Regions from separate parts of the Homo sapiens genome. Here region 2 is linked to region 1. The links are contacts of gene promoters, found by promoter capture Hi-C in human tissues and cell types (Jung and others, 2019). All regions are on one chromosome and are shown on one strand. The core of a region is centred on a gene start or on the middle of the fragment in contact, and the rest is flanking DNA. Distances in the headings are between cores, read along the strand shown.

The links. The method cuts DNA at HindIII sites, captures the fragments that hold promoters and counts their contacts. A contact is called where the count stands out against the background at its distance.
Region 2: a fragment that was not itself captured here is called in contact with the fragment with the promoter of HPSE in region 1 in 2 of the 25 tissues and cell types used here (IMR-90 fibroblasts and adrenal gland).

What each region holds. Positions count from the first base shown.
Region 1 is chr4:83,332,300-83,338,517 of GRCh38, reverse strand. It overlaps HPSE (heparanase), which reads left to right and starts at 3,670. Exons shown (of 12, transcript NM_001098540.3): 1 at 3,670-3,962. The coding sequence starts at 3,736. The HindIII fragment of the contact is 4,578 bases long and covers 1,179-5,756 here.
Region 2 is chr4:83,413,402-83,419,619 of GRCh38, reverse strand. HELQ (helicase, POLQ like) reads left to right here. Exons shown (of 18, transcript NM_133636.5): 16 at 1,414-1,527; 17 at 2,755-2,889. Among named protein-coding and RNA genes, the nearest start is that of HELQ, 39 kb to the left of the region's middle. The HindIII fragment of the contact is 4,716 bases long and covers 10-4,725 here.

The DNA.
Region 1 (6,218 bases), core at 2,421-4,920:
TCTAGTTCATTTAAAGTTTTTTATTTCTAAATCATTTTCATCACATAATTTGTGAGTCCCTAAATCTGCGTGAGGTAGTGGAAAAACTCTGGGCTTGGAATCAGAAAGCTGTAAATCTACTTTACAAGGTTATTGCAAAGATTAAGTGGGGGTAATAATTTTTTAAAAAATAATCTCTCATCTGTTAAACACATACCTCACATTGTAGATGGAGCTAGCTGTGTTACATTATTGTCAATTAATTCTTTAAAAAAAGACTATGGGCCAGGCATGGTGGCTCATGCCTATAATCCCAGCACTTTGGGAAGCATAAGTGGGTGGATCTCTGAGCTCAGCAATTTGAGACCAGCCTGGGCAACATGGAGGAACCCCATCTCTACCAAAAATGCAAAAAATTAACAGGGCATGGTGGGGCACACCTGTGGTCCCAGCTACTTGGGAGGCTGAGGTGGGAGGATTGCTTGAGTGTGGAGGTGGAGGTTTCAGTGAGCCAAGATCACATCACTGTATTCCAACCTGGGTGACAGAGTGAGACCCTGTTTCAAAAAAAAAAAATCTTATGAAATATGTATTATTACCCCTACTATATAGATGAAGAAATTGAGGCTCTTGGAAATTGACGATCTGGCCCAAGATTGTACATCCCATCAAGCTGCAGGGCTAAGATGTATGAAAAAGGGCTCTAGCTAGGATGTATGTAGCTGTAACTTGCTATAAAAATTAAGGTGTCTTATTATAAAATATCTCTGAAATGATAGTTCCTATTAATATTCCTATATGTTCCTCCTTCCTATGTATCCATATCATACATCCTTATCAGACATTGTAAATCAAACCAAATTAGAAGCAGGAGCAAGATCTCAGCCAACAGATCATCATGTGTGCAAATTGCTTCTCTGCCCCCTCGTTTTTGTTTTCCCAGTTTCTTTTCTTTTTCTTTTTTTTCTTTTTTTTTTGACAGGGTCTTGCTCTGTCTCCCATTGTGCAGCGGCATGATCTTGGCTCACTGCAATCTCTGCCTCCCATGCAATTCTTATGCATCAGCCTCCTGAGTAGCTTGGATTATAGGTCTGCGCCACCACTCCTGGCTACACCATGTTGCCCAGGCTGGTCTTGAACTCTTGGGCTCTAGTGATCCACCCGCCTTGGCCTCCCAAAGTGCTGGGATTACAGGTGTGAGCCATCACACCCGGCCCCCCGTTTCCATATTAGTAACTCACATGTAGACCACAAGGATGCACTATTTAGAAAACTTGCAATGGTCCACTTTTCAAATCACCCAAACATGTTAAAGAAATTGGTATGACTGGGCATGGCACAGTGGCTCATGCCTGCAATCCTAGCATTTTGTGAGGCTGAGACGGGCAGATCACGAGGTCAGGAGATTGAGACCATCCTGACAGACATGGTGAAATCCCATCTCTACTAAAAATACAAAACAATTAGCCGGGGGTGATGGCAGGCCCCTGTAGTCCCAGCTACTCGGGAGGCTGAGGCAGGAGAATGGCGTGAATCCAGGAGGCAGAGCTTGCAGTGAGCCGAGATGGTGCCACTGCACTCCAGCCTGGGCGACAGAGCGAGACTCCGTCTCAAAAAAAAAAAAAAAGAAAGAAATTGGTATGACTGTTGACTCACAACAGGAGTCAGGGGCATGGGGTGGGGTGTAAGATTAATGTCATGACAAATGTGGAAAAGAAACTTCTGTTTTTCCAACTCCACGTCTGCTACCATATTATTACACTCTTCTGGTAGTGTGGTGTTTATGTGTGAATTTTTTTTCATATGTATACAGTAATTGTAGGATATGAACCTGATTCTAGTTGCAAAACTCACTATGAGCTTAGCTTTTAAGTTGCTTAAGAATAGGTAGATCTATGCAAATAATGATAATTATTATTATTATTTTAAGAGAGGGTCTCACTTTGTCACCCAGGCTGGAGTGCAGTGGTGTGATTAAGGGTCACTGCAACCTCCACCTCCCAGGCTCAAATAAACCTCCCACCTCAGCCTCCCCAGTAGCTGGAACCACAGGCACGGGCCACCACGCCTGGCTAATTTTTTGTATTTTTTGTAGAGATGGGGTTTCATCATGTTGCCCAGGCTGTTCTTGAATTCCTCGGCTCAAGCAATCCTCCCACCTTGGCCTCCCAAAATGCTGGCATCACAGGCATGATGGCATCACTGGCATCACATACCATGCCTGGCCTGATTTATGCAAATTAGATATGCATTTCAAAATAATCTATTTTTATTTGTTGCCTTATTGGTGGTACAATCTCAAGTGGAAAAATCTAAGGGTTTTGGTGTTATTTGCTTACTCAACCAATATTTATTAGACTCTTACTAAGCACCAACATGATCACATGCCTGAGCTATGGCTAGCATAGCGTGTGAGACAAACTTAATCTCTGTTTTGGTGGAGCATATAATCTAGTAGATGAAGCCAATGTTGAGCAACATCACAATACTAACAAATTGAGGATGCTACGAGAGTGTCTAACAAATTGAGGATGCTACGAGAGTGTCTAACAAATTGAGGATGCTATGAGAGTGTGTCATGGAGAGCTGCCTGGAGATTGAGAGAAAGCTTCCTTGAGGGAAGTTACATTTCAGCTGAAACACACTGCCATCTGCTCGAGGTTTTGTAACTGCATTCACATCCCGATTCTGACACTTCACATCCCGATTCTGACACTTCACCCAGTTACTGTCTCAGAGCTTGGGTCCGCATGTGTAAAACAAGGACAGTATGCACTTGGCAGGGTTGTGAGAAGGGAAGAGAACACAAGTAAAGCACCTGTATCAGGCATACAGTAGGCACTAAGCGTGCGATGCTTGCTATGATTATACATCAGTGTAAGCATCAAGGAAAAGCTGAAGAAAAGTCTGACCAACAGCGAAAGATAAATGCGCAGAGGAGAAATTTGGCAAAGGCTCCAAATTCAGGGGCAGTCCGTACTCTACACTTTGTATGGGGGCTTCAGGTCCTGAGTTCCAGACATTGGAGCAACTAACCCTTTAAGATTGCTAAATATTGTCTTAATGAGAAGTTGATAAAGAATTTTGGGTGGTTGATCTCTTTCCAGCTGCAGTTTAGCGTATGCTGAGGCCAGATTTTTTCAAGCAAAAGTAAAATACCTGAGAAACTGCCTGGCCAGAGGACAATCAGATTTTGGCTGGCTCAAGTGACAAGCAAGTGTTTATAAGCTAGATGGGAGAGGAAGGGATGAATACTCCATTGGAGGTTTTACTCGAGGGTCAGAGGGATACCCGGCGCCATCAGAATGGGATCTGGGAGTCGGAAACGCTGGGTTCCCACGAGAGCGCGCAGAACACGTGCGTCAGGAAGCCTGGTCCGGGATGCCCAGCGCTGCTCCCCGGGCGCTCCTCCCCGGGCGCTCCTCCCCAGGCCTCCCGGGCGCTTGGATCCCGGCCATCTCCGCACCCTTCAAGTGGGTGTGGGTGATTTCGTAAGTGAACGTGACCGCCACCGAGGGGAAAGCGAGCAAGGAAGTAGGAGAGAGCCGGGCAGGCGGGGCGGGGTTGGATTGGGAGCAGTGGGAGGGATGCAGAAGAGGAGTGGGAGGGATGGAGGGCGCAGTGGGAGGGGTGAGGAGGCGTAACGGGGCGGAGGAAAGGAGAAAAGGGCGCTGGGGCTCGGCGGGAGGAAGTGCTAGAGCTCTCGACTCTCCGCTGCGCGGCAGCTGGCGGGGGGAGCAGCCAGGTGAGCCCAAGATGCTGCTGCGCTCGAAGCCTGCGCTGCCGCCGCCGCTGATGCTGCTGCTCCTGGGGCCGCTGGGTCCCCTCTCCCCTGGCGCCCTGCCCCGACCTGCGCAAGCACAGGACGTCGTGGACCTGGACTTCTTCACCCAGGAGCCGCTGCACCTGGTGAGCCCCTCGTTCCTGTCCGTCACCATTGACGCCAACCTGGCCACGGACCCGCGGTTCCTCATCCTCCTGGGGTAAGCGCCAGCCTCCTGGTCCTGTCCCCTTTCCTGTCCTCCTGACACCTATGTCTGCCCCGCCAGCCGCTCTCCTTCTTTTGCGCGGAAACAACTTCACACCGGAACCTCCCCGCCTGTCTCTCCCCACCCCACTTCCCGCCTCTCATTCTCCCTCTCCCTCCCTTACTCTCAGACCCCAAACTGCTTTTTGGGGGGTATCATTTAAAAAATAGATTTAGGGGTTACAAGTGCAGTTCTGTTCCATGGGTATATTGCATTGTGGTGGCATCTGGGCTCTTAGTGTAACTGTCACCCGAATGTTGTACATTGTATCTAATAGGTAATTTCTCATCCCTCATCCCTCTCCCACCCTCCCACCTTTTGGAGTCTCCAGTGTCTACTATTCCACTAAGTCCATGTGTACACATTGTTTAGCGCCCACTCTAAATGAGCCTTTTTGTTTCATTCATTCTGTAAGTGTTGAATAGGCACCACCTAAGGTCAGGTATAAGTGGAAATTTGAAAAAGAAACTGCCCACTTGCCCCAGTACTTCCCTAGCCAAGAGGAGGGAAACCAGGCAGGTGCACCTGAAGGCCTGTGAGTGCTTGATTTGCTGTGCAGTGTAGGACAAGTAAGATTGTGCATAGCCTTCTGTATTTAAGACTGTGTTAGGAAGATTTCTCTTTCTTTTCTTTTCTTTTTCTTTTTTCTTTTCTTTTTTTTTTTTTAGGCAGATGAAAAGGGCGTCACAGAACAGGAATAAAAATCTAAATATTCAATAAATGAGACCTAGGAGACTACTGCAGTGACTTACAAAGTCCTAATAAAAAGATGTCTCTCCAAAATGGGGCTGCAAAATGTGGTGCTGCCTTATCAGCTCTAAGTTTTTTCCTTACCTGAGAAAGAAGGAACCTGATGCAGGTTCAGGGCTCCTGCCCCATGAATGCAGGCTGACTCCAAGATGGGGAGCTACAGGGACAATCCCAGGTCTTCTAGGCCTCTTATTTAGGCCCTGGGAGCCTCCAGAGATGGCCACATCTTGACCAGCCCAGATAGAGGGAAAGATCACCATTATCTCACCTCTGTGTCAAATACCTAGATGCTGTCCTCCCTGAGCCCACACTATAGTTGCCAGCGCTAATTTAATGGGTAGTGTACTGGTTAAGAGATGGACAGACCATCCTGGCTTGACTCTCAGCTCTGGCAAAGATGAGTGACTTGGTTTTTCCATATCTCTTGGCCACACCAACCTTGATTTCTTCAGCTGTAGAATGGAATTTCTCAAGCTTGCCTCAAGGATTATTGCCCGAGGATTTGATGATATGGTAAGAGCTTCTCAGTGTTTGACCCATAGTAAGTGTTTGACGTTTCAAACGAATTGTTTCTTTCTAGGACATGGTGAGCATTTGGTAGCCATTCACCGGTTTTCTGTTTCTTTGGATCATAGTTAACCTCTCCTTTTCCTTCTGGCACTACAATTTTCTGGTGGGGAAGAATCCTTACTTTCTGCCCTTCCCCTTAAGGATAGGAAGCTGATACTAGGCAGCAACTAGTTGGGGGATAGGAAGATTGTTCCAGAGAAATGCTGAACCATAGGGCTCCAGATCACAGGACCCCAGTCTTAGCTTGCTGGGGTGTGGGGTGGGGGGGGGCGGTTACTGAACATGGGTATGAAGTAGATGTCCATTTACTGAAATGTGAGGACCTGAGGCCTCTTCTATTGCTGTAGCCAGCATATTCCCCAACCTCTCCCCAAGAAAGGACAGATGGGGGTTCCCCCCTGGAGTAACAGGTCCAAAAGAAAAAACATACAGTGGGACTTCCAGGATCTGGGCCTGATCACCCAGCAGTCAAGCTCCCCGCAATTGACTAACACCCCCCTAACACGTAGAAATTCCAATCTGCAATTTAGTGAGGATGATACCTTTATTCTTCTTAAATACATCTCTTCATTTCCCAGAGCACCCTTTTTTCCCCTCCTCTGCACCTTTTTGTTAAAGACTGGAGTATAATGAAATACCAAGAGAGCATAACATGTGATACATAAAACTTTTTTTCTGGTTTACAAAACAGTTCATTCTTGTCCATACGTGCTTCTCTCCAAGGCTGGCTGCTGTCTGTTCCAGCCCGCTTCGCTTGGAGAGGCCATCTGCCATACCTGCTCCCCAGACGCATCGACAAGCACACCCAGAGTGTTATCTGCTAAGACCTAAAAGAGGGAGGAACCCCCTCTCCTCATCTAAGACCTAGCTTCTAAATTAGAGTGTGAGGGT
Region 2 (6,218 bases), core at 1,118-3,617, 82 kb before region 1:
GAATTGTTTAAGTAAAAAACTCTATGAAGCATCAAGAAAAACAGCAATAATTTGATGACTAATCCTAAGAAAAATCTAGCTGACAATTTGTACTCTAATTAATTTACTTCATTTATATATATCATAATTATATAATTACATATAATATAAATATATAATTATATGATATATATTACATGTATATAATTTTTCAAATTATTATCAATAGAGGCAGGGATCTTGCTGTGTTGCCCAGGCTGGCCTCAAACTCCTGGACTCAAGCAGTCCTCCCACCTTGGCCTCCCAGAGTGCTGGGATTACAGGCATGAGCCACCACACCTGGTCTACTTTCAATATTTCAAGGCAGGGGTGTTCAATCTTTTGGCTTCCCTGGGCCACATTGGAAGAAGAATCGTCTTGAGCCACACATAAAATACACTAACAATAGCTTATGAGCTAGAAAAAAAAAAAAAAAAAAATCTCATGGTGTTGTAAGAAAGTTTACCAATTTGTTTTGGGTGACATTCAAAGCCATCCTGGGCCGCATGTGGCCTGTGGGCCACAGGTTGGACAAGCTTGTTTTAAGGTATTTTTTATTTTAAAAAGTTATAAATGGTATGAAATGGTACATTAATTGTGTTAGTTAAGATGCTTTTAACTACAAGTTACAGAAAAACCCATCAAGGTTTAAACAATAAGAAAAAATAATTATTTTATATAACAGGCATGCCAGAACTAAGGCAGCTTCAGGATTGATTGATTCAATAGTTCTGTTCAAGGTTTTCTTCTTTTTACTCTGCCATCTTCATTACGTTGATTTCTTTCTTAGTAGTCACAAGATGGCTAGCTAATGCTGTTCCATTCATCATGTACATTCACAGTGATATCCAAAGGCTAGAAAGGGAACTTTAAAATAAAATAAACTACTATAATAGAATATTGCAAATATCTATGACAAAATATTATATTGAATTCCCATTTACCCTTCTAGCTTTAACAGTTATTGACTCATGGCTTCCAGTATTTTTATTATTGTATTGTTGCATTGAACATCATGTTACATTTGAATATTTCCATATTTAATATTCATCTTCCAGATAAATTCCAGATGTAGGAATTGTTTTTAGTCACTTGGGAAAGAAAAACTATGCATTTTCTTCCAGGTATTTTGATTAAAATGACCAGAACTCTTTTTATTGACTTATTTTTCAATTTTCAATCTTTTCCTCATCCTAAAACCAGTTCCTCAAATTCCTCAGGGTCCTCCCCATGTTTCTTCACATCTGTTTTGCTTAGAATCATCTTTCATCTCTGGCTTAACTCAAGTTCCAGAACTTATGTAAGGAACATTCTCTCTGAGCCCCCTATCACACAAACCAAACTTTGAAATAACTTACAAAATTTAAATTTTATATATTTCTTTGTGTTCTACAGGAGCTTGAGGAGTTTTGGGTTTACAGAGCCCTTTTGGTAGAACTTACCAAGAAGCTGACTTACTGTGTAAAGGCAGAATTAATCCCTCTCATGGAAGTTACTGGAGTTTTAGAGGTCAGTAGCTTGTTGGTTTCCCAATTGAAATTATGTTGAATTAATACAGAAGCCAGGTTTTATTATTTTCTGAAGTCTTAATACAGAGGAAGTGATAGCAAGAGCCTTAATTGCTCATTTGTCATGGGAATCTTTTATTTAAAACAAATAGCTGTTATGGCCTTCCAGAAATCCGCTGTTACTAGATGGCATACCTGATGAAAAATCTCAGTTGTGAAAAAAAAAACATAACAGGAAGGGTGGGAGTGACTGTCTCCAAGTATGTTGTGCTACCGGTTGTCCTTAACACTTCTTCCTTCCTCCACTCCTTTGAAGAATTACCTTCTGTCAGTTTGGACTCAGTGCTTGTTTAAGATAATGGTGATTCAGTGGCAGAAAGGGTCATTTGTATTTTTTCTAAGAGAGTAAGAAGAAAGGGTTCGCAACTGGTTTTCCAGCTTTCTATTTTCAGCCAACCCTCAACTTCAGTTTATTCTCTGTTATTCAGTTCTTGAGTCAGAGGAGTTCTGCTTAGGACACACGCACACACACAGAGAGAGACACCAGTGGTCCCCTGAGTAGATGGTGAGAACACTGAAAGATATTGGACTTGGCCTGATGATGTGGCTCATGCTGCAATCACAGCACTTTGGGAGGCCAAGGTGGGTGGATCAATTGAGGTCAGGAGTTCAAAACCAACCTGGCCCACATGGTGAAACCCCATCTTTACTAAAAATACAAAAATTAGCCAAGTATGGTGTCGTGCGCCTGTAATCCCAGCTACTTGGGAGGCTGAGGCAAGAAAATTTTGTGAACGTGAGTGGTGCAGGTTGCCATAAGCCAAGATCGCACCATTGCACTCCAGCCTGGGCAACAGAGCAAGACTCTTTCTCAAAAAAAAAAAAAAGAAAAGAAAAGAAAAAGAAGAAAGAAAGAAAGATACTGGACTAGAACATTTTACTTGAGGATATGAGATGATGCCACCAACCTAAGTGGGTTTCTTTTCTTGATTGCAGCACACATCAGTTGACTCAAGCTGCATAGAACTATAGTTACCTTGTAGTCAGTTTGGAACCACCCAAATGCATTTTTAAAAATTCCTCAGTATTCTCATGTCTTGTCTCTTCATATTTACTTTATTTTATCCCAGTCTCTTACATGCAGTTTTTGTTCTTTTCAGTAAAGTGCTTAATTTTCTTTTTTCTAATCCCAAACTATTATCCTACTGATTTTTGTAACACTTTTCAGGGTCGAGCAAAACAGTTATACAGTGCAGGTTACAAAAGTCTAATGCACTTAGCTAATGCAAATCCTGAAGTGCTCGTAAGGACAATTGATCATTTATCAAGACGCCAAGCCAAGCAAATTGTTTCATCAGCAAAGGTAAGCAAACAAACCATTTTTTAACCTTAATAATCTTGCGTAGTGTTATTTCCTTGTATTATAGACATCAGAACAAAAACATTTCACATTGCATAACTGTTTATTTCTATAGATACAAAAGTACATACTCTTATTTGTGAGTAAAAATAATGCATCTGTTGTGACACAAGCCTTGCAAAACAAAAAAAGGACCTGCTAAAAAATAAAGAAAATTTCAGTGGTGGCTCATGCCTGTAATCCCAGCTCTTTGGAAGGTCAAGATGGGGAGGATGGCTTGAAATCAGGAGTTTGAGACCAGCCTGGGCAACATAATGAGACTCTGTTTCTGCAAAAAAATTTAAAAACTAACTGGGTGTGGTGGTTTGTGCTGTAGTTCTAGCTACTCCGGAGACTGAGGCAAGAGGATCGCTTGAGCCCAGGAGTTCAAGGCTGCACTGAGCTAGGATGACAGATTGAGACCCTGTCCCCCCGCCCCAAAAAAAATGCCAGGCATGGTGCCTCATGCCTGTAATCCCAGCACTTTGGGAGGCCGAGGCAGGTGGATTACCTGAGGTCAGGAGTTCGAGACCAGCCTGGCCAACATGGTGAAACCCCATCTCCACTAAAAATACAAAAATTTAGCCAGACTTGGTGGCACACGCCTATAATCCCAGCTACTCGGGAGGCTGAGGCAGGAGAATTGCTTGAGCCCAGGAGACGGAGATGGCAGTGAGCCGAGATCATACCACTGCACTCCAGCCTGGCTGACAGAGCGAGATTCTGTCTCAAAAAAAAAAAAAAAAATGGCTGGGTTCGGTGGCTCACACCTATAATCCCAGCACTTTGGGAGGCCAAGGCAGGTGGATCACTTGAAGCCAGGAATTTGAGACCAGCCTGGCCAACATGGTAAAACCCTGTCTCTACTAAAAGTATAAAAATTAGCCAGGCGTGGTGGCCCACACCTGTAGGCCCACACCTGTAATCCCAGCTACTCAGGAAGCTGAGGCATGAGAATCACTTGAACCCAGGAGGTGGAGGTTGTAGTGAGCCAAGATTATGCCACTGCACTCCAACCTGGGTGACAGAGTGAGAGTCTGTCTTAAAAAAAAAAAAAAGACAATTTCAAGGGTTCATTGAAGTATAAAGAACCCTGGAAGTCACTGAGCTCTGTCTCCCAAAGTTCTCTTCACAGGAATCCTTTCCTCAGCATCCCAGCATCTGGTCTCTCCACCTTTGAGCACCAGCACTGACAAGGAGCCTGCATCATCAAAAATTAGGTTGTCTATTTTTGTACACTCTTAGTGTTACAAAAATTATCCTGATATACTGAGGCTAAATTTTGCCTTCTTAAAATTTCTACCATTGCATCAGAGTACTACCTCTGGAACTGGACTCTTTTTTTGTTTGTATGCTGTTTTTCACATATTCAAAAACAGCTCTTATTGCCCCCAAGGGTTTCTCTTTTCTGTTGCTTTTATCTGTATTAAATAATCAAGTTTTAGGCCATTCACTGTCCTAGTTACCCTTTGCTAGATGCAACCCAGTTTGCCATTGCCTTCTGCTCCCTGTGGGTAAAGCCATTCCACAGCAATTTGAGATTGTTTCCTTCTTGATCTCAACTGTGGTTCTAAGTCTGAAATTGCTTGGCTTCTTTGAAGCTTCATTGTTTTACTATTTTCATATATAAATCAGAATTAGCTTTCCATCATTTTTTAATGGTGCTCACATTGCTTACATTACCTTAATTGTTCTTTACAACAAACCTATGAGGTGGACAAAGTCAGTGTTACCCCCAATTTATAGATGAAACCACTAAGATTGACCTTGTCCCGTTAAATTAGGAGTTCTTGGGGTTGGTAGGGATGAAGTTATAGTCATTTCCTTTGCTATAGCACCTAAAAAAAAAAGGTTCATTAAACTTTCACACACTTGTTTCAGCATTTACTAGTGATGTTTGCCTAACTCCATTATTTCCATGATGCTTATCAAGAGGTGATTTTCTAACTTCATTATCCCTTCTGGATTTATTTACTGATGTTTTACTGTGAGGAAAAGCTTTTCCTTTATTTATTCATTTATCAGTATGTGCTCATAGGTTCAAACATATTCAATGGGTTATAACCCATTAATAACATTACTTATTTTGGTGCTCAAATGGCCTCAGATTTGGCCAGTGGAAGCCCCTGAAAACTGGTTTGTGTGGCTTTTTGACCTGTCATCATCATTCTTGAAGTATTTTCTTACTTTCTGGCTGTGTCTGTCAGCATCTAATCATTAGGAGGCAGAAACCACACAGTAATTTGAACAGGCGTCTAAGGGGTCAACAGAACTTTAAAGAATTCAGGAAGGAATACATTTGAGAGACGGTCCACCCCCACCCCACAGCACCCCTGTGGATGGGATCCGGACTTCATTGCCACTGGATGCTGGGAAGTTTGTTGTGGTGCTACAGCCAAGGCTAATAAGCAGAAACTGCCCACGGAGTGCTGACAAAACTGCAAGGAAGCTGCCTACAATGTACTGTTGAACTTGCCCAGAAGTCAGCTCTAGGGCCCATGGAACTAGGGCACTAGCTAGGACCACCCTAGCTGATGTATGTCTATGTATTTTTCTATACTTATGTGTAAATTACTGAAGGCCATGAGCTCATACTGATAACCCTAATTCTGATTTTTCCACGTACATACGCTACATAACAGAGTCTAACTCCAAAATTTAGTGGCTTAAAACAGCCATCTTATTTTGCTCATGTTTTTGTAGATTAGGAATTCTGGAGGGGTGCAGCTGGGTGCTTCTCACTTGGGTCTCAGGCAACTGTAGTCAGAAGTTGACTGGAGCTATAGTCATAAGGCCCAGCAGAGCTGGATGACCCAGGTGACTCACTCACATGACCAACAGCTGATAATTGGAGGCAACTGGGGCTTTTCAGCTTTTGACTGGAGCAACTACATATGGCCTTTCCATGTGGCTTCAGTCTTTATGGCATAGAAACTAGGTTTTGAGAGGGAATGTCCAGAAAATGAGCATTTTAAGATATCCAGGCAGAAAATGCAAGAAGTCTTCTGAGCCAACCTCAGAAGTTATACAGTGTCATTTCCGCTGCATACTGTTGGTTACTAGAAAACCGTTAAGACCTAGATTGAAAGGAAAGGGGATCAGACCACCTCTTCATGAGAAGAGTGTCAAATAATTTGTGGTCATCTTTAAAATCTGCCCTCTGGTCACAAATTGTTTCTGTTCCTCCCACATGCAAAATATATTAACCCCCAAAAGGCTTTTCCATTATAGTTTCTATTAGGAAAAACTCAAAGTCTTTTTTGTTGTTGTTGTTCCCCCACTCAACACTCAAC